Regions from separate parts of the Homo sapiens genome. Here all the other regions are linked to region 4. The links are contacts of gene promoters, found by promoter capture Hi-C in blood cells and fetal thymus (Javierre and others, 2016). All regions are on one chromosome and are shown on one strand. Each heading gives the region's core, a stretch centred on a gene start or on the middle of the fragment in contact. The rest is flanking DNA. Distances are from core to core; before and after follow the strand shown. Region 1 overlaps LOC124907910 (a long non-coding RNA gene). Region 2 has its middle 92 kb from the start of NRAL. Region 3 has its middle 75 kb from the start of NRAL. Region 4 holds the start of HOXD-AS2 (HOXD cluster antisense RNA 2). Region 5 has its middle 30 kb from the start of MIR1246. Region 6 has its middle 27 kb from the start of NRAL. Region 7 has its middle 22 kb from the start of NRAL.

The links. Contacts are between HindIII fragments. The CHiCAGO score rates a contact against its expected background, and 5 or more counts as called.
Region 1: a contact is called between a fragment that was not itself captured here and the fragment with the promoter of HOXD-AS2 in region 4, in 2 of 17 cell types (endothelial precursors and fetal thymus). The highest score is 7.3, in endothelial precursors.
Region 2: a contact is called between a fragment that was not itself captured here and the fragment with the promoter of HOXD-AS2 in region 4, in 1 of 17 cell types (endothelial precursors). The highest score is 10.5, in endothelial precursors.
Region 3: a contact is called between a fragment that was not itself captured here and the fragment with the promoter of HOXD-AS2 in region 4, in 1 of 17 cell types (megakaryocytes). The highest score is 6.8, in megakaryocytes.
Region 5: a contact is called between a fragment that was not itself captured here and the fragment with the promoter of HOXD-AS2 in region 4, in 4 of 17 cell types (endothelial precursors, fetal thymus, megakaryocytes and 1 more). The highest score is 12.3, in endothelial precursors.
Region 6: a fragment that was not itself captured here is called in contact with the fragment with the promoter of HOXD-AS2 in region 4 in 1 of 17 cell types (megakaryocytes); the score reaches 7.2 in megakaryocytes.
Region 7: a contact is called between a fragment that was not itself captured here and the fragment with the promoter of HOXD-AS2 in region 4, in 1 of 17 cell types (endothelial precursors). The highest score is 7.2, in endothelial precursors.

What each region holds. Positions count from the first base shown.
Region 1 is chr2:176,585,945-176,588,644 of GRCh38, forward strand. It overlaps LOC124907910 (a long non-coding RNA gene), which reads left to right. Exons shown (of 2, transcript XR_007087314.1): 1 at 1-148; 2 at 1,975-2,700. Among named protein-coding and RNA genes, the nearest start is that of MIR1246, 14 kb to the right of the region's middle. The HindIII fragment of the contact is 2,651 bases long and covers 1-2,578 here.
Region 2 is chr2:176,414,639-176,417,352 of GRCh38, forward strand. No RefSeq gene overlaps it. Among named protein-coding and RNA genes, the nearest start is that of NRAL, 92 kb to the right of the region's middle. The HindIII fragment of the contact is 2,201 bases long and covers 273-2,473 here.
Region 3 is chr2:176,431,798-176,434,497 of GRCh38, forward strand. No RefSeq gene overlaps it. Among named protein-coding and RNA genes, the nearest start is that of NRAL, 75 kb to the right of the region's middle. The HindIII fragment of the contact is 208 bases long and covers 1,271-1,478 here.
Region 4 is chr2:176,135,657-176,138,356 of GRCh38, forward strand. It overlaps HOXD-AS2 (HOXD cluster antisense RNA 2), which reads right to left and starts at 1,442. Exons shown (of 3, transcript NR_038435.1): 1 at 965-1,442. LOC401021 (a long non-coding RNA gene) reads left to right here and starts at 956. Exons shown (of 2, transcript NR_148241.1): 1 at 956-1,343. The HindIII fragment of the contact is 4,739 bases long and covers 1-2,700 here.
Region 5 is chr2:176,569,308-176,572,007 of GRCh38, forward strand. No RefSeq gene overlaps it. Among named protein-coding and RNA genes, the nearest start is that of MIR1246, 30 kb to the right of the region's middle. The HindIII fragment of the contact is 2,662 bases long and covers 108-2,700 here.
Region 6 is chr2:176,479,709-176,482,408 of GRCh38, forward strand. No RefSeq gene overlaps it. Among named protein-coding and RNA genes, the nearest start is that of NRAL, 27 kb to the right of the region's middle. The HindIII fragment of the contact is 2,872 bases long and covers 1-2,700 here.
Region 7 is chr2:176,528,626-176,531,325 of GRCh38, forward strand. No RefSeq gene overlaps it. Among named protein-coding and RNA genes, the nearest start is that of NRAL, 22 kb to the left of the region's middle. The HindIII fragment of the contact is 212 bases long and covers 1,257-1,468 here.

The DNA.
Region 1 (2,700 bases), core at 3-2,502, 450 kb after region 4:
GAGTTGCAGGAAGCAAAATGTGTGATCGCTTGGGCCAGAATCTGTTAAGTATCATGTTGCTATTTCTCCCCTTTCTTCCCCATCTTAGGTCACATCTCAAATATGAACATCACCCAGAGGTTACCCAGGTGATCCCAGGCCATCTCGGGTATGCAGCTGTGCAGAACTTGATCTTGAAGGACAGATGGCATTAGGGGGAGTTCTTTTATACCTTGCACTGACCAGGGCTAAGTTTCTGACATTTCTGTCTGCAGACAACAAAAGGCTTTCATCATGAGCTGCTTTCTGATGCGTGCTTAAAACCAAGTTGAACGCATTAAAAGGGCGAAGAAGCAGAAATCTACTCGCTGTGCTCTGTGAAGAATTAAATAAAATTTTGATGGGGGTCGAAGGAAGGAGAAATAGATTTTAAAAAATCTTTATGCTCTCTCCTCCAAAAACTTGGATTTAATGTGTATTTTGGGCTAATTCTAATTCTCCATTCATGCCAATACACATTAAATCCTATATTTTCTTTAAAAATAGACATTTTAAATAAAATGTTTAATGCAAATTACATTTAGCTGAGTTTGATCTCCCTTTCTGATTCGAATAATATTATGATTCTTGCAAGCCCAAACCTTCCCTTAGCAAAATTTAATGTTACCGGGATGCGGTATGCTTTCATGAATTCCCCTCCAAATTTTTCCTTTTTCAGCTAGAATATTTTCTCAGACCTCCTTCTCTCTAATGTTACTAAAATCCTTTGAAGTATTATCTAATTACAGAACTAAGACTTAACCATGTCCTTTTCAGGAAACTTAAAATAACTCTTTTATCCTTCTAATTTAGTACTTTATTCCACCATATATCCACACCAGTCCTTCTGACCCATCATATTTCTGAAAAGTACAAGGCAACATTTCTGAAATTTAGTTATTAATTGTATTACATAGAGGCTATATGCGTGAGTGAAAAAAATAGTGTTATAATAACTAACATTGCTTGAGTTACACGACTGTCCCAGGAATTATTCTAAGTGCTTTATGTGCATTTTTCATGTAATCATCACAATAATCTGGAGGAGATAGATCATATTCTTATTATCATCCCCATTTTCCAGATGATAAAGCTAAGGCACAAAGAAATCATGAGACTTTTGTAAGATCACAGGACAAGTCAGTAAAGGCAGGATTCGAACTCAGGTTGTCTGGTTGGATCATTCACATTTTTATCCACTTTTCCATGCTTCTCAGAGTGATCTTACCATTTGTTTTGAAAGCTCTATTCAAGGCAGTGTGTAGGGTGGATAGGACACTGGACCAAAGACCAGAAGATGGGCCTTTAACCTGATTTTTTTTCATGAATTGGTTGCGTAAACTTGGACAAATCAACACCTCTGGAAAAAACAGTAGGCAGAATTCATCACATTAAGTCCTTTTATAAGCATCTTATTTATTTTCAGTAAATAATGCTGTCAGTGGGAGGCCATCTAAGCAGGGCCTTTAGGATCAATATTGAATGCGGATTCTAGGGTGAGACACTCTGGTTGACACAAGGCTGTGGTTGATGTGGGACTTCTGGGTTGAATCCCTACTCTGCCTCTTACCAGATGTGAGATAGACAAGTTAATCACACTGCCAGAGCTTCTGTTTCCTCATCTATAAAATTCAGATAATAAAAAACGTTCACCTGAGAGAGTTGTTGAGGATACTTGAAGAGTTAACCTTAAAACACTTAGCACAGCATCCATATGCTTTGCTGTGTGATCCTGTGAGGTTACTATTACCAGCTCCATTATACAAATGAATAAACTGAGGCAAGGCCTAGAGAAGTTAAATAACTTGTCCAAAGTCATTCGTCTTGTAAGTGGTGGAGTCAGCATCCTAACTCAGGCAGATGAGCTTTCAATGAACACACCATCTTTCTCCCAGGACTAGGAGGAAACTTTATGTTATCTATTACCTGACTGTTTACTAACTGTTTGTTTTCCAGGATGTCCTCCACATTCCACAATTCAGTAGCCAAAGGATTGAACTGATACCTGCAGAAGACTTCCTGGATTCCCTCTCCAAGACCCACAATCCACTATGATTGGATAAGGCCTACCCTCTAATTGATCAGTACTACACACACACACACACACACACACACACACACTCACTCACCAAGGCTTGGTTTCCTTTTCTAAAAAACAAAAGAGGGTAAAGGAATGCCCTCCCAAGTCTCTTTCTAAAATTTTCAAGTTCTACAGGCTCAGTAGGCATCCAGCCTCTCAGCACTACCCTATGTCCCCTATGCCCACGTAGATAAACTTGTTTTAATAAAAGCTAACTTCCGATTTAGCACACAGTATTAAGAATTAAAGTTGGATGAAGCTATTACTGTTACGAATAGCCTTGGGCTATTTTTCAATTCACCTATGTCATACGTCAAGTGATTAAGAAAATCAAATGCTGTATCCAGGAAAATAGAACATGAAAAGGCAGGAATAATGTGTGTCTTTAGGACACCCATTTGAACACAAAAGAATTAGGGCCCAAATTTCACTATATGTCAAATGTGAATTTATTTCTATAAAAGGCTTCAGAACTCTCTAAGCTTTGCATTGTCTGAAGAGTGCTACAGAGCCATCTGTGACTTGTAGTGGTTGCATCCAGATCTTTGAAAATGCTTTTTCTTCTTAATCAAGTTAGGATATTGGATTTCCAGAAGAGTAGG
Region 2 (2,714 bases), core at 123-2,622, 280 kb after region 4:
ATTTTAAATAATTTTTTTTCTTTCACAGATAACATATATTTCACAAACATACACATGATTCACTAGATGTTTATGATCATATTTTGGTGGGATGGAGGCCTGAGAAGCAAATCACATGAATATCTTTAAGCATATTACTGTAGTTACCGACTTCTGGGAACATGAACTGAGGTATTACTCATGATGCAAAAGTAACATGACTTTCCTGTTTTTGCTGCTAGTTTCCTATTAAACAATTGCTGCTGGCAGCCATAATAATGTTGTGAACATAAAGCTTTCTTCGTCTAACATTCCTGACAAGTGCTTGATTGTCCAGAAAAAGCCATCTGTATGTATCTGAAATCTTGTAGGATGCTATGTGTCACTATTTTTTCACAAAGAAATGTCTGCATCGGGGTGTAGGTGGTCTCTAATGCATTTCTTTAAGTGTTGATTTCTTTATAGCCAGTCACAAGCAGATGCCCCAAATGAGTAAACCAGTATTGAATCCTTGAACCACCAGTCCTATTAGCCATGGGGTGGATGAGCTTCCAAGTACAAAGGAGAGGGCAAAAGTGGGATCCTTTCTTCCTCAGACTCAATAATTCTCTTGAAGTGGTGGTTTAACAGGTGGAAAATGATGTGAAACTTTAAGAACAACAAGTCAAATGCATGGCGAGGCTCCAGGGATTTGTAAAGGGATATGGACGTTTCTAGTGCAGATTACCAGGTCATCAGTTCAAATGCAGCTGTGCTTAGCTATCACTAAACATGGTTATGCATGATGACTGCCTGGGTCTGTTGTGAAGTGGGGTGGTGCTCTTGGTTCCCTAGTAGACAGCTGGGGAGCTGAAAACCCAGCTAAGAGGACCACGATTTCAATTGGCACTCATGGAAATTTGAACTCACCAGGAGACCCAGGCTTGCTGAACCCTCAACTCTCTACCTTCTTAAAGCATCTCCTGGGCTCTGCAAGCTCAGGACGTGTGCTGAAATAAAGCACATCCTGTGACTGTGTGAATGGCATTAATTCTGTCAGCCCAGAGAAAATCTTTCATGCATGGATCCAGCTGGCCGGTAATCGAGCCGGTGAATAGAGGACTTGGCTTCCCAGTTTGACTTCTTGTCTCTGAAAAAGTCACACAGTTCTGAATTTCCTCCAGGCCCCTGTCTCACCCCAAAGTGCCAAGAGGTGTCCCAGGAATTACCTCCAAGAGTGTCATGGTGCAGTCCTTGGATGCGGCTCAGTTGCAGTAGGATTTGTGTAAATGTATATACCATGTTCACAGAATCTCCAATTCTGTCACACATTTTTTAGGACTATGACTGTGTTGGAACCCAGGAGCCAGGGCTCAGCTTCCCATGAAATAACGAACAGTTTTTAAAAGACAGGAAAGTAATCACATCTTTGGTAGTCAGGTTAGGATTATGCTATTCAAGCCAGCTCTGCGCAGAGACAATAGCAGCTGCTGGGTTCCCTGTAGTTGGAGAAACAGACAAGCGGAATGCTGTCTTTCTATGATCCCCATGCCTGCTCTGACATCCATCCCAGACCAAAGAGTCTAGGGGCTGGCAGAGGCAGCTGTGGCTAGGCAGAAAGAGCAACAGTTTGGGGTTTTAGAACATTGAGTTACAGTCTTTGATCTGCCAAGAATAATCCTGGCTAGTCCCATAGCCTCTTTAGAACCTCAGTTCCCCCATCTATAGCCTTTCTATTGCACTAGAAAGGCTTCTGATGTGGTTTCCAACATGCTATTTTAAAAACAATTTGAATCCTTCAGAAGACAGGGCTATAAAAATAGAAGTAATTATGACCTAAGCCACCAATAGTAATTAAATTAAATAGGCTCATAGTGAATGAACAAAAATTTATTTGTTGTGTAGAAACCTGAGGATGTGTTTATAAAGTTTAAAAAGCAAAACCCATACTGGCATTTAAATAAAGATTGCTCTGTAAAACGTGTGCATGTGACAAAGACTGCACAGAAAACGGTGAAAGTGGCCATGTGAGTGGGAGAAACACAGGTGTGGTTTTTATTTTATATAAATTTGTTCTAACATTTTATTTGTTGCACCCATTATTTTTTTCAACAACTAAAAACAAACTTCCAAAGTGCTTTTATCTTTAAATTTACTTTATGGAGGTAGTCACACTGCCTTTAGAAAAACTTTATTAGACTGCACTTACTACATTATCTAGAAAATAACACATTTATATGCCTATAGATTCATCTGCCCCCCAAAACCACACAAAACAAAAAATATAGATGTCTGGTTTTGTCTTTCTCTATAAATAAAAGGAGGCAGAGACAGTAAATATAGAAAGGTGGCATGTTACATTACCATAACACACCAGAAACCCAAGGTGAGGATAAAAGTGCTATTTATCAACCCACTGAGAGCTATGATTCTGTGGATTTTCATGTCTTCAGTGTTACTGGAGCTTAGATAATTCCAGAATTTTATTCTTTATCTTAGAACTTCATCTTTGGAAAGCTTTTTAGTAAAACTAGGAGGTAGAGTAAAGAAGGTATGAGCCTGATGGGGAACAAAGATAAATGAGTGAAACATGTGGAGTATCCATACTCCAAATAGAAACAGAAGGCAGGGGAAATTTCAAATTCAAAGGGAATACTAAGTGTCAAGATACTCATCACTTCCACATTCATGTACTTGTTTGCAACCCTAGCTCAGGCAACACCACCTGATTTCTGTTTAGTATCTTTCCAAAAACA
Region 3 (2,700 bases), core at 125-2,624, 300 kb after region 4:
TTCCCAATTTGGGGCTTCTTCTTCTTCTTCTTTTTTTTTTTTAAAAAAAAAACTTGTATAAGTGGGATTGCTAGAAACATCTCTGTACAAGTAGCTTTGTTTTCTTTGAAATATTTTCCTGGGCATATGCTACTCAAAGTGGGTTAGTATGTCAAAAGATAGATTGATTATTGTGCTCTTATTATATTCTTTTAGCCCTTCTTTAAGGAAGGGCTAAAGAGGCAATAGAGAACAAAAGCCTCCCTTTTAAGAATATAATCCAGCAGTTGCTAACATCTCATTTGCTCCCTTTGGAATTTAGTAACATGGTCTTCATTAGCAGGAGTGGGGGCTGGGAAGGAGGATCTCTAGTGACTATGTGCTCAGTTAAAACCCATGTTGAGATGGAGTGCAGAGAGTGTATTCTACCATGAAAAGCAGGACAGAATGGAGAAGGGAGTTTTTCCCATTATCTGCAACACTTTCTCTGTGAAGTTTTTCCTGTCATCCTTAGGCAGAAGTAGTTTCTCTCTCTGCTGGGTCCCATATTTATGGTAAATAATTTTTGCACATCCTTTTCTGTCTTGAGTCTGCTCTGCTTGAGGACAAGCATAGTGCTTCCTTCCTCTTGGAATTTACCATCTTATTTCATACTTTTATGGATACTACATTCATTTTTCAGTATCAGACATTATCTAGCACGTTGACATCTCCCTTAGAAGGTGAAGTTCTAAGTCTGTTTCACCTTCTTCCCATAATACACACACCCATCTTATGTCTTCACCCACTCGATATAGTTATACAGTAATTTTATTTATGTCAACATTGTGTTGTGTTTAAATAATTATGACCATGTAAATCCTTGTTTATGTATTGAGCAAGCAATTATGACTAATGCTTGCTCATGTGCTGTAGTGTAATATAATAAAATTTCCCATCCTGTCCAGTATTTTGTTTTCCCTGGAGTTTATAGTTATGCTTGTTTTTAATAAATTATTGTTAAGTATCTATGTAGTTATCACTGAATTCAATCCTAACTTTATCCAAATTGTACAAATATCCTTTTAAAATGTTTAAACACATTAAGCATAAATTACATCTTCTTGAAGAATACACGCCTTCTGATATGCTCTAAATGGGACTGTTTTCTAGGCCTGCCAAATAGCTATTATCTTCCCTTGCTATCCCTCAACTCTTTTTTGTATCGGTTCCCTTGTTTTTGAGGTCCCGTTTCCTGGTTTATTCCCTCCTCTCCCCCCGCCCTTTTTTTTGGTAGAACATACCCTCCAGAAGCTTCTTGAGAAAGGATTTATGAGAAGTAAGATTTGAGACCTTGTTGATCTGAAAAAAATATCTTTATTCTACTCTCATACTTAAATGAGAGTTTGGCTGGATACATAAAGTTGGAAATACTTTTCCTTCAGAATTTTAAAGGGATTACTTCATTGCCTTCTAGAATTTGGTGTTGCTCTCAAGAATTCAGATGCTGTTCTTCTTGAAGCTTCTCAACCATTTTGCTTTCATTTCTCTGGAATAGTCTAGGATCTTTTCTTTGTCCTCAGTGTTCTGAAATTTCATGACAATATACCTTGATATGAATCTGTTCTCTTCTGGGTAACTAGTAGGACTTTTCATTCTGAAAATTTATGTACTTCACTTGTTCAAATTGTTGTTGAATTATTATTTTGATTTTTTTCTTCTCAGTTTCCTTTTTGTTTCTCTTTGTAATTCCTATTATTTGGATTTTAGACTTCTTAGCCTGGTCCTCTGATTTTCTTACATCTGTCTTATTTTACTTCATATTTTATTTCTGCTCTAATTTCTGATTTTCAAATGTTTTATTGTTTTTTCCATTTCTGTTATCACATTTTAAATTTACTTAGAAATGAAAGGCTTATTTAAAAATGTTATATGTGTTTTTTAAAGATTTTTTCCTTCTTGCAAAAATCTTTATTTTCTTCAACTTTCTTTTTATTCTGCTTGTTTGTTTCAGCCTCCTTTTTTCATATTATGGGCTGTCATGCCTGGTGACCCTTGGCTATTTGCTCATTTTAAAATTAAGGCCAGTAAGCCTGGGTGTGGTGGCTTAACGCCTGTAATCCCAGCACTTTGGGAGGCTGAGGCAGGCAGATCACTTGAGGTCAGGAGTTCAAGACCAGCCTAGCCAACATGGTGAATCCCTGTCTCTACTGAAAACACAAAGATTAGCCAGGTGTGGTGGTGGGCACCTGTAATCTCAGCTACTCGGGAGGCTGAAGTAGGAGAATCACTTGAGCCCTGGAGTCAGAGGTTGCAGTGAGCGGAGATCATGCCATCCACTCCAGCCTGGGTGACAGAGTGAGACTCTGTCGCACCAAAAAAAAAAAGATTAGGGCCAGTAAAAACCTCTGTGTATGTGTGCAGGGCCTGTGGACTAGATGCAGAAACAAATGAGTTATATGGGTCAGAGCTGGGTAACACAACATGAGGGAGAAATAAACCTTTATTGTTGTAAGTCACTGAGATTTGGGCATTCTTTCTAATGACAGCAAAACACAGCTGAGGAACACAAGGGTTCAAGACCCTTTTCTTTTATAAGAGTGGCCTCCAAATATTTTTTAAAATCACCCTTTATTGAAGTATAACTGATATATAACAAGTTGCACTCATTTAAATTGTACCACTCCAGTTTTAATGGATGTGTGCACATGGGAAACCACTTTCATAATCCAGATACAGAAC
Region 4 (2,700 bases), core at 192-2,691:
AGAAGGGATCCAGAAACCATAACCCTGTCTGTCCAGAAAGATGTTTCTGTGGAGAAAGACCAGGTGGTAGAGTTTCAAACGGGTATTTCGGAGAGGTTGACAAGTACCTAAAACCATTTGAAGCCTTTAAGCTGGTTGGTGATTATCCTACTGCAGAACCTCCCGGGAATGGGAGGGACCCCAATTTATGTTGGAGTGGTGTGTTGGGGGCACATTTTCTTGGCCTGCAGATCCCTCGTTTTCTTCCCAAGGTAACTGGGGCTGGCTTGCAAGATGAGAGGGAGGAGGGGAAACCGAAAGTGGTTGGCTGCCTCTGGGGACAGGCCTTTTCCTGAGGGGAGAGGAGGAGAAGCCAAGTGACTAGCACAGGGTGAGAGATGGGAGGAGGTAGCTGTGGGGATCGCTTCCCCAGAGCGTGAGCAGTACATTGAGTTCATTTCCCTCCTTCACGATGGCCAACTGCGCAGAGGTTTTGAGCCAAACCAAAGAAAAGAACACACACACACACACACACACACACACACACACACACGCACACACACAAATAAATCCTAGAAAAAGAAACAGAGGAGGCGGGGAGGGAGGGAAGAACCACGAAGGGAAGAAAAAGGGAAAGGTGAAGAGGGACAGAGAAAGAGAAGGGAGGAAGGAGAGAGAGAATGGAGAGAGAGAGGAGGAGGAGAAGGAAGAGAGGAGGCGGGGGAGAGAGAAAGCAGAAGAGGAAAAAACATGGCGCTTGCGAGCTGTATGTGCAAAATCCGCAAGGAATTGCAGTAAATTCCTTTTTGTTTGAAGAAAATTTACAACTTGGTAATAGACCTTTTTATGACCTATTTGCGGTCGTCATTGGCTGCGGCTGGTCATGTGCAGGCGCCGCTCGCCTTCACGGCCTTTTTCCTGATTTCCCCGGCGAATTTCCCCCCGCATTCTGCTTTCCCAGAGCCTCACCCCCTCTTTTTCTAACCTTTGTCTCTGCAGAGGTGGGCTCCAGTCACCGGCTGCGGGATTGCGGAGTCCGCCGCGGCCTCGGCTCCCGCCCGGCGCCCGGCCTGGCCCCACCGCCGCTCACTCGGTCCGCATCGCCGCCACCTCCGGAGCTGGTGGGGAGCCCGGCGAGGGAGGGCCTGGAAGGGGCCCTGGGCGCCGAGTCCCCCGCCGGCGCCGACACCGCCTGCCAGGAGCAGCCGGCCTGCTCGAGGTGACTGCAGCCGCGCGGTTCTGGCGCGGCTTCTTCACCAACATGAGCGGGTCTCTGCGTCCGAGAGTGAGCGCAGCCGGGCAGCGCCTAGTGGATTACAGCAGACGCCCGGACCGACCGCCGCCTGTAGCTCGGCAGCCTTCGGGTAAGAATCGCCCCCTCCCCGCTCCCCAGCATGCCACCAAGAAGCCTGGGGCGCCGACCCCCTTGGGCAGCTCAGTCCGGCTGCTCCCCTACATTTCCCGGGGAAGTGGGGGGTCGCTGTCTAAGCCCCTTCCCCCAATCACTTCGTTCCTAGGGCGTCCCCTGGGGCCTGGGGTGGAGTCCGGCTGGGTTCAGAAGTCTAAGGGGGCAGTATTATTTCAAAAATTCTGAGATACGGGTAGCCACAGACAGGATCCCACTGCCTAGATGGAGAGCCCCTCAATCCTACCCTAGGAAAGTGTATAGACGGGTTACTACTGAACATCTCCACTTTGCTGGGGGTCACTAAAGGCATTTTATATAGAGCTGTGGTTTTTGTGGTTTACCTGTGGCCGTGGCCAGAGGTTCCTGGGAGGCTAACAGGTGTTTTTTGAGGGTTGGGGCTTGGGTGGGGGTGGGGTGAATTCTCTGTTTCTAGGATGTGCTTGGTGTTTGAATCTAGGCTTTAGTGACTGATGCTGGTTAATTTCTAGGGTTGATGGTTTATTGGGCCTTGTGTTGTATGAGATGGAATTTTAAATATTTTTAAATGTTTCTCTAGTTCTTAGAGAAATTTTTAAGCAACTCAAGATAGGCTCTTCCCGCATATGATAATCCGTCAGGTGAATTTGGATTCTTTTATATCACAAAATGAATCCATGTTTTGGGAGGTAATGGTATCAGAATATATGGTGCAGGTCTTGGTAAAAACCCAATAGATCTTTGAGAAATACAAGACATCTCTGTGTTGAAACATCGTGTGTTTCTTATTTGCCAGAGTAGGAAAAGAGTAGATCTTTTTGCTCTCTAAATGTATTGATGGGTTGTGTTTTTTTTCCCACCTGCTAATAAATATTACATTGCAACATTCTTCCCTCAACTTCAAAACTGCTGAACTGAAACAATATGCATAAAAGAAAATCCTTTGCAGAAGAAAAAAAGCTATTTTCTCCCACTGATTTTGAATGGCACTTGCGGATGCAGTTCGCAAATCCTATTGCCTATTCCCTCATGAACATTGTGAAATGAAACCTTTGGACAGTCTGCCGCATTGCGCATGAGACTGCCTGCGCAAGGCAAGGGTATGGTTCCCAAAGCACCCAGTGGTAAATCCTAACTTATTATTCCCTTAAAATTCCAATGTAACAACGTGGGCCATAAAAGAGTTTCTGAACAAAACATGTCATCTTTGTGGAAAGGTGTTTTTCGTAATTAATGATGGAATCATGCTCATTTCAAAATGGAGGTCCACGATTTGTGGCCAGCTGATGCCTGCAAATTATCCTGGATCACTAACTCTGATCACTTACAAATAAGAA
Region 5 (2,700 bases), core at 189-2,688, 430 kb after region 4:
TGGAGAGAGAAAATCAAACTTCTATAAATTGCTGCAGTGCTATAACGAAAGAAAATCCACATGCTCTTTCAAGTGTTTCTTGCTGCCATTTTATTTTCTGTCTTCCAAGCTTGGTGTGAGAGATAATTGGCCACAATTTCTTGAACACATATATTGGAAACTATGACCCCAATAACAATTTCTGATTCATCTGCATTAAAGATTTTCCCCTTTCCAATACAACAAATTAAAAATGTTGTACAATCATTCCACATTGTAACTATGGAAAGCCTGGAACATTATATGAGTGGTAGAAAACAAATCAATTGACATTACCAAATGAGCACAGTCAAAACCCCCTTATCCTTTTTTATTAAGCTGGACAGACTGGCTAATGAAGGTCTGGGGCACTGGGCTCTGACAACTCAAGGAAGCCACCATTAGCAAACAAACATCTGCTTGCTTCCCTCTGCGGTCCCTGCCAGCTGCGGCCGAGGCACAGTAAATTAGTCTGCTAATTCTATTGGCTTGTTCCTGCATTTCTCTAATGTGGAATATTGATCTGTGCTGGGGAGCCTTGGCTTGCAAAGTTCCTAAAGGTGCAAGTGGGCAATGTCTGATATTTTTTAACACCAGGAAAACCTATGGTATGGGGGAACTGTTGCTGAAGTGGAATGATACCCAATGATGAAAACTGGGAGGAGAAAAGCTAAGGTTGAAAACAATTCAGTTCATTGAGCGAGTCTCCTTTAAAGGTAAAACAGTGGGAATCACATAAGAAAATGATCACCCTTTTAGTCGTTAGTGGAAGGCAGGATGATTTTGACCCATTTTAAAGGATGGTGGAAATGAAATAGGAAAATATAGTCTATCTTTATTGATTATTTGATGTTGAAATTCTACTCAAAAGAAAAAAATAAAACCTCTATAACAGATACCTGTCTTGATTTTTAGAGGCACCAGGGTATATTGGCTGAGATCTCAGATTCAAGGATCCCCTACTACCTTAGTAGTGTGATGTACGTAAGGTTGTTTCCTCATCTCTAAATGGCAATGATAACACATAGACTTGTGAGAATGAAATTTTGCCTGGAGATCACCTATCACAGCCCCAGGCACATTGTTGGATTAACTTTCAGGGCACTATATTTTTCATACAGAAATCTTATAGACAGTGGATGTACTCCTCTGCAGATTTGTTTGAGAAAAACAGAATAGGTGTTTGAAACCGGTTCTCCACTGAGAAGATATCACCCACCAGTACCCTACAGAGTTTACTAAGCACCGACTTCTCTGGCTGGATGGGGTATGAGAAAGTATACCCTGAAGGAAATTAACCCACATATGTAAGGCCAGTGGCAATAATACAATCAGGCATTCAGAAGTTATCAGATTGCTTACAAAGTGTGAGGGGCTTTACATGAGCTCCTGCTCCCCGCCCCACTCTTAAACCTCCTTCCCTAATTTAATAGCTATTGAATTTCAAAGAATTATTCTGTGTGTCTTTCTGGTTATTTTAAATCCTACTGCTGTCCCTGGCAGAATGGGATGTGGAAACAAAATTCAGGTTATCTTTCAAAAATAAAGCTGACATTGATCTCAAGCAGATATTCAGGTGGGATGTCCTCACCTCTAAGGACAGCTGGCTTCTGTTCAGTGTGGTTTTTCTGTAAGGTAACCAAAACTTCAGAACACTGAAAATTGTGGGGCATCTCAGAAGGTTTAGTAGAACCTCAGCTCCCTCCTTTCTGAGTTCTTAACTATTGACTTTAAAATAAATGTTTTGGGAACTACCTTTTTGTTATGTGGGGGAAAAGCCCTGTGTGAGGCACTAATTTAATCCACACAACACTCCAAGATAGATACTATTATGCCTATTGTATGGTAGGGACAGTAAAGCTCAGAGAAATTAATGCATCCAATTGTCTAAGAATTCACAGCTAGTAAAGTAGTAGAACTGAAATGGGATACATACATGTCCATTTGATTTCAAAAACTATCCTAAATTGCCTACACTATAACATATATTACAATAAATGAACCTTATGAAATTGCTAAAGTTCAACCAATTTTGACCTACAAAATGGCAGTTTCATATACTACAACCAAATGCTTCATTTGACCATGGCATATGTTTCATTTGACTTACAGTATTGATCGAAACTTTTTGTATTGATATTACATATCCAAAAAGGAATGCAATTAAATGTATTTGAAGACTTTAGTTCCATTCTTCTCATTTTTCTGCTGCAAAATACCAGAGGAATCTGACTGATCCTATGTCAATGATTCATACATTACTTGACGTTTCCCAATAATTTTGTAATTAATCTTTGTATTTTTTTATCAGTTTCATTGTGACCTGACCAACTGAGCTTACAATTGTGTTTCCCTCTTGGCTGCTGAACTTCAACACATTTTGCCATTATGACTTTTATATTAGTTTTCATTTCTTTCTATTCTCAGTTCAGCAATATTGCTGGAGTAATTATTGTTCTTTATACCTTCCAAACATGAGTATATTTTTAAAAACATAAATTAGATGAAACTGTATTAAATTCTCTGGGATCTAGAACATATTCTCAAGGGGGATGAAATCCACTAAAATTATATGTACCTAAGATACGCTGGTAATATTTTGCTAGAAAAATTCTTTGTTAGCATAAAATGGTAAAATATATTACATACAGTATATACATATATAGATAGATGTTTGAACAT
Region 6 (2,700 bases), core at 179-2,678, 340 kb after region 4:
AAAACCTTATAGAATATTCTGGTAGTGAATTTATCTTTTCTAAATATATCTTGAGAAATGTGTAAAATTAGTTTGTCTTTCCTCTGAGCACAAATCACTAGTAGTGGGTGGTAGAAGAAGTCAGTTTTGAATTAAAAATTTGTCTTAGATAATCCACTGAGCCAAGAATATGCATTTAGATGTTACAGAGTTGCTCGTATTTCAATTTTTTAAGGCATTAAGAAAATACTCAAAATTGAGAGAGATGTTTTTGGATCATTAAAACTACTTAGTATCAATAAGAAATACAAATAAAAAAAACTCACCTTATTACTTATTGCATTATACTTGATTCCCTCCCATGTCCCCCTCTTGAAATTACAGCTGGTTAACAGATGGCAGACACTAAGATTGCACAAAGAAGCAGTCACACGCACACATGCATCCTCTTAATGAGGCCCCCACTTCTTAGGGTGTCCAGTGAAGACTACTGGCTGAGAAAGACCCAATTGGCAGTCTTCTGTCAGAGCTAATGTGGAAAGGGGAGGGTTTGGGGATACATTAACTCTGTATGTGTGTCCCACAAGACCAGTGGCTAAGTCACATGTTCAAAGTTCTAACATAGTGGAGCCTTCTCTGAATGTTCTGTGTTGTTGTTGTGTTTTTTTTTTTGTTTTTTTTTTTTGTTTTGTTTTGTTCTGAGACACGGTCTTACTCTGTCACCCAGGCTGGGGTGCAGTGGCGTGATCGTGGCTCAATGTAGCCTCGGTCTTCCAGGTCCAGGGGATCCTCCTACCTCAGCCTCCAAGTAGCTAGGACTACAGGCGCATACCACCACACCCAGCTAATTTTTGTATTTTTTTTTTTTTTTTTTTTGTAGAGACAAGGTTTTGCCACATTGCCTAGGCTGGTCTTGAACTCAGAGCTCAAGCGGTCCACCCACCTCGGCCTCCTGAAGTGTTGGGATTACAGGTGCGAGCCATTGCGCCAGGACTGAATGTCTATATTCTTGAAGGAGACCTTCTGGGGCATGTTGAGTAGGGAAGTGACAAGACCAAGTTGAAAAGACTGTTCTTGCTGCAGTGAGGAGAGTGAACTTTTTAATGGCTGTGCAGAGGAAGGTTGGGGGTGCGTGGGGGTGGATGGCTACTGAGGCAAGAGGGGAAGCATGGAGACTCATAGCTGGCTCTTGTGGTGGTTCAGATGAGGGATGATACAGCTTGATCTAGAGAAGTGCCCAGATTCCAGAAAAAGTAGAGTTGAATCAACAGGACATGGTGATTAATTGGCAGTATGAGCGCAAGAGAGAGAGAGGTCTCAAGGAAAGCTCCCAGGTTCCTGGCTTAAACATCTGGTTGGGTAAAGCCATTCATAAAAATGCGGGAAATTCAAATAGGTGGAAGTTGGTAGGAGACAATCAAGAAGTCCATGTTGGACATGTTAAGTGTGAGATATCAGTAAAATATTCAGGTGGAAATGCCAGGGAGACCACCTGGAGCTCAGAGGCGAAGTATAGAGAGAGTGCTGGAGACTTCTGTTTTAGGACGTTTTATGTCTTTCAAAGCACTTATATTAATTTAATCTCAGTCACATAACAATCTCTTTATGAGCTCAGCAGAGGAGATATTGTTATCCTACATTTCACAGGTGAAAATTGAAACAAAAAGACATTCAGAGACTTTGCCAAGTTCACATCCCCTGATCCAAGGACATCCTATGGGATATGGTAATGTGATCTTGTTCTTCCATCTCAAAGTCTTACTGATTGGTTTAGTCTGATTTGAGACTTGCTTTCTAGTTTTCTACAAGTGGATCAAGAAGCAGGGTTTTTCCTCTTTAAAGAGCATCCCAGATTCCATAAGTATTAAAGGGCCACAAGTCAACTTTATTGCTGTCTCTTGTCTCTTGAGGTCCAATGAAGAAAGAAAAGGGATTATTTTCAGCTCAAAAAGAGTTCAAGGCCACCCATGGTTCCCATCAACCCTGACAGAGTAGGTACTGCAGAAATGATGGCAAAGGTACAGCCTATGGTTCTGCAGAAAACTGTTGTGTGTGTGTGTGTGTATGTGTGCACGCCTAGTGCATGGAGGGACAGTGCTATCATCCGTTGGGTCCCAGCAGGAACAACAGTAGACCTGTAGATTAAGAGTTTGTTCTGTTGCCTCAGGCAGTTGGTCTTCAGGCTCTCACTCTTGCGGGGCATCTGGGTGTCATCCTAACTTATCACGAGTGTCTGGGCATCCAGGAGTTCAACTACCTAGACATAAAACCCGTCAGTTCTTTTAAAACATCCAGCTAAAAGTCAGTCACATTTCAAACCTATCTTTGGAGGCTGTAAGAACCCCTTATTATAACCAAGATGCAATAGGCTTAAATTTTTGAGGGAAAAACCTGGTGACCAGACAGTCTTAAGAAAAAGTGGGGTTTGCTTAGGGAACTCGATGCCCCAGGGATGTACATGTCTCAGAAACCAGGGCCAACTTCAGGTTCCTTTGCTCCTTTTCTCTAGCCAAGGTTCGTCTAGCTTTAAACATATTTTTCTCTGTGCATATTTGAACACTCCCTTGTCCTTTCAGCTCCAACATACTTTTTTTCTCCTTTCATTAACTTGACATTAAACATGTCTTCCCTCAGCTGCTACACAGACTCTATTTTCAGTAGGAGAAGGTGAACATTGCTGCACTTTGGGTTCAACTAACATCTTGAACTATTTTTCAGATG
Region 7 (2,700 bases), core at 113-2,612, 390 kb after region 4:
TGTGCATCCAAATAATCTAGAGGGCTTGTGAAAACATGATTGCTGTTCCCAGCCCCAGAGTTTCTGATTCAGTAGGTCTGGGATGGGGTCTAGAAATCTGCATTTCTAACAAGTTCACAGGTTATGTCACTGGTCCAGGGACCACACTTTGAGAACAACTGTGTAACCCACTGGATGAAAGTTAAACATGATAATTGTGTAAAACACAGGGTGCGGTGAACTAGTCATTTTGACTGCAAGAAAAAGTTATATTTAACTTGTTAGAGGTTCAAAGTTTAACTCTTTATAAAGCCTGATGAATTATTGCATTTTTATAAATAGTATTGATTAGTGGAGATTCCACATGTAATTATTTCATTTCTGCAACCTATATATTTTTATAATGAAAAAGATAAAACTCACACCTTAACCATGTTCTGGTCTTACTTTGGGTCTCTTGCTCTTTCACTGCTGTAAGGGGAGAATTAATAGATTTGTCATAAGACATTGGAAGGAAAGATGAGCTGGAAAGGTATCATCTTAGATTGCCATGAATGAAATCACATTCCATTCTTCCACTACCCCCTCCGTCCTCCTCCCATACCCTCCTGGAATCTAGACCCAGTGATGGAGGATCACCCTAACAATGCAGCGTTCCCTCTCGTCTGCAGAGAACACAAAACAATCCATGTTCCACTGGCTGTTTGTCTGTCCCTTCCCTCTCCCTGCGTTGCCCCAGTGCTGGGCAATGAGACATGGCATGGCCTCATAGCAGACTCAAGAATCCTGGGAGTGAGTTCCACATGGACTTAAAATCATTAAACAGATTTCTTCCTCCTTTTCCTCTCTCCTTCCCTATCTCCCTCCTTTCTTTCTCTTTCTCTTTCCTTTTTTCCTATATTTGAACATTAAATGTCATAGGGATATAGTATCCATTTTGCAATACTGGCAACTGACACCTCTTTAAAAGAAACTCTAGAACCCAATCCTATTTGCCTGATTCTAAAAAAGAAGTTCTAGCACAGTATTCAGGCATATTCTACTCACAAAAATAGCCCTGGTGCACATGCAACAAATAGAAGCTATGTAAATAACACATGGAGTTGAATGTGTTATATCTAATTACAAATTTATGGACTCCTAATTTTCAAAAAGCTTAACCATTACATTGTACTCTACTTCTTCCTGTGGTAGACCACTTGGGATTTCAATGCCTCTTCATCTGGGAGAAATGGGAGTGAATGTGAGCTGCAGGGGCTTGTGGAGGTGCTGGGGAAAGCTTACCCGAGTGATAGGCTTGTTGAATGGTAAATTTTGTTACCAAGGAAGGAAGTCTATGGAACCTCTTTTCTGAAGATTCCAGGGAATGTTCTAAATGCAGCACTGGACCAGAGACAGCAGACTGGACCAAATGACCTCCAAAGGATCCTTTCAAGACTGTGATTTTGTGAATGTTTTTTTTATACCAATCTACTCATTGCTTCCTAGAAGCTTATGAAGCTCCACACATCTTCTCCACTGCATAGTTAACTGCCATGAAGTCTTTTACAAGCATTTCTAATAACATACCCACTCCAGAGAAGCAGAGCCCATCACAGTCAAAAATGGCTATGACTTACAGCAACCTTTGAGATAGGAGCTCTCAATTGGTATTTAAATTTAAATACCACATCATAATTCAGGATGCTAAATCAGTGTGTAAAAAAGGATCAATACACAATAAAACTACAAGCAAGACTGGCATAGACCGCACAGCTTCTTTTTCCATCTAAACGCTCCCAACTTGTCTCCAGATCTGCTTGACACTGCCTCATTTGACATTACTTAGTCCATAAAACTTTACACATTTATAATGGGCAACAATAAGACTGGGCAGTTATCGTGGCATAAAAATGGGAGAAAGAAGTTTCCAGATCATCAAATATGGACATCGTTTTCTAGCCAAATGCTTTATTAATGATAAATTAGCAGTCCCAAATGAACACAGGTGTGATAAAATATCTACTTCATTGACAGGTTTTTATTATGAACTGTACTTACAGGCTTAAATTGAAAAGACCCATCTCCACAAACCACTTCCACATTTTGAATAATGTTTCACTTGTGATAGGTAAATAGGAGGCATTTTAGGAACATTTCAATAAATCTCATTTGGAGTGAGACTGATTTTTCTTAAGTAGACAAAGTTGGGTTGGAAGACTTATAAAAATAGATTGATTATTTCCTGGTGCCATAAGAAAAGAAAACCGCAATAAGTACTTTGCTGCTGACATTTTGAAAATCTTACATCCTATAGCTTGTTTGACTTCATTAGATTATACTAAATATTAGGAAGGTGCAGAGGAATGGTGAAGAAATGAAACTAGAGAACAAGGATGTATTTGCCTAAAAAAACTGGAAGGAAAAAATGAATTCTTTTCATTGAACCACTATCTGTTCCTTTCCATCCTACTTATGAGACAAGTCAGTCAACAGCTATTTACAAGACATGGAAGCTTAGAATTACATTGCTTTAAAGTATGAGGACTTCAATATTATGGCCTAACAACTAGCCAGTATCTTTTTCAACACAAGAGTAAGCAGTCTGGCAGATCTCTGGAGTTCTAAACCAACAGATCAAGTTCCCCCCTTGGTTGTTTAGGCCTCTATAAAGAAAGAAATGCAATCCAATAATGACGATATTGGCAGTGGAGAAACACACCCAAACCCCTATTAAAGCTA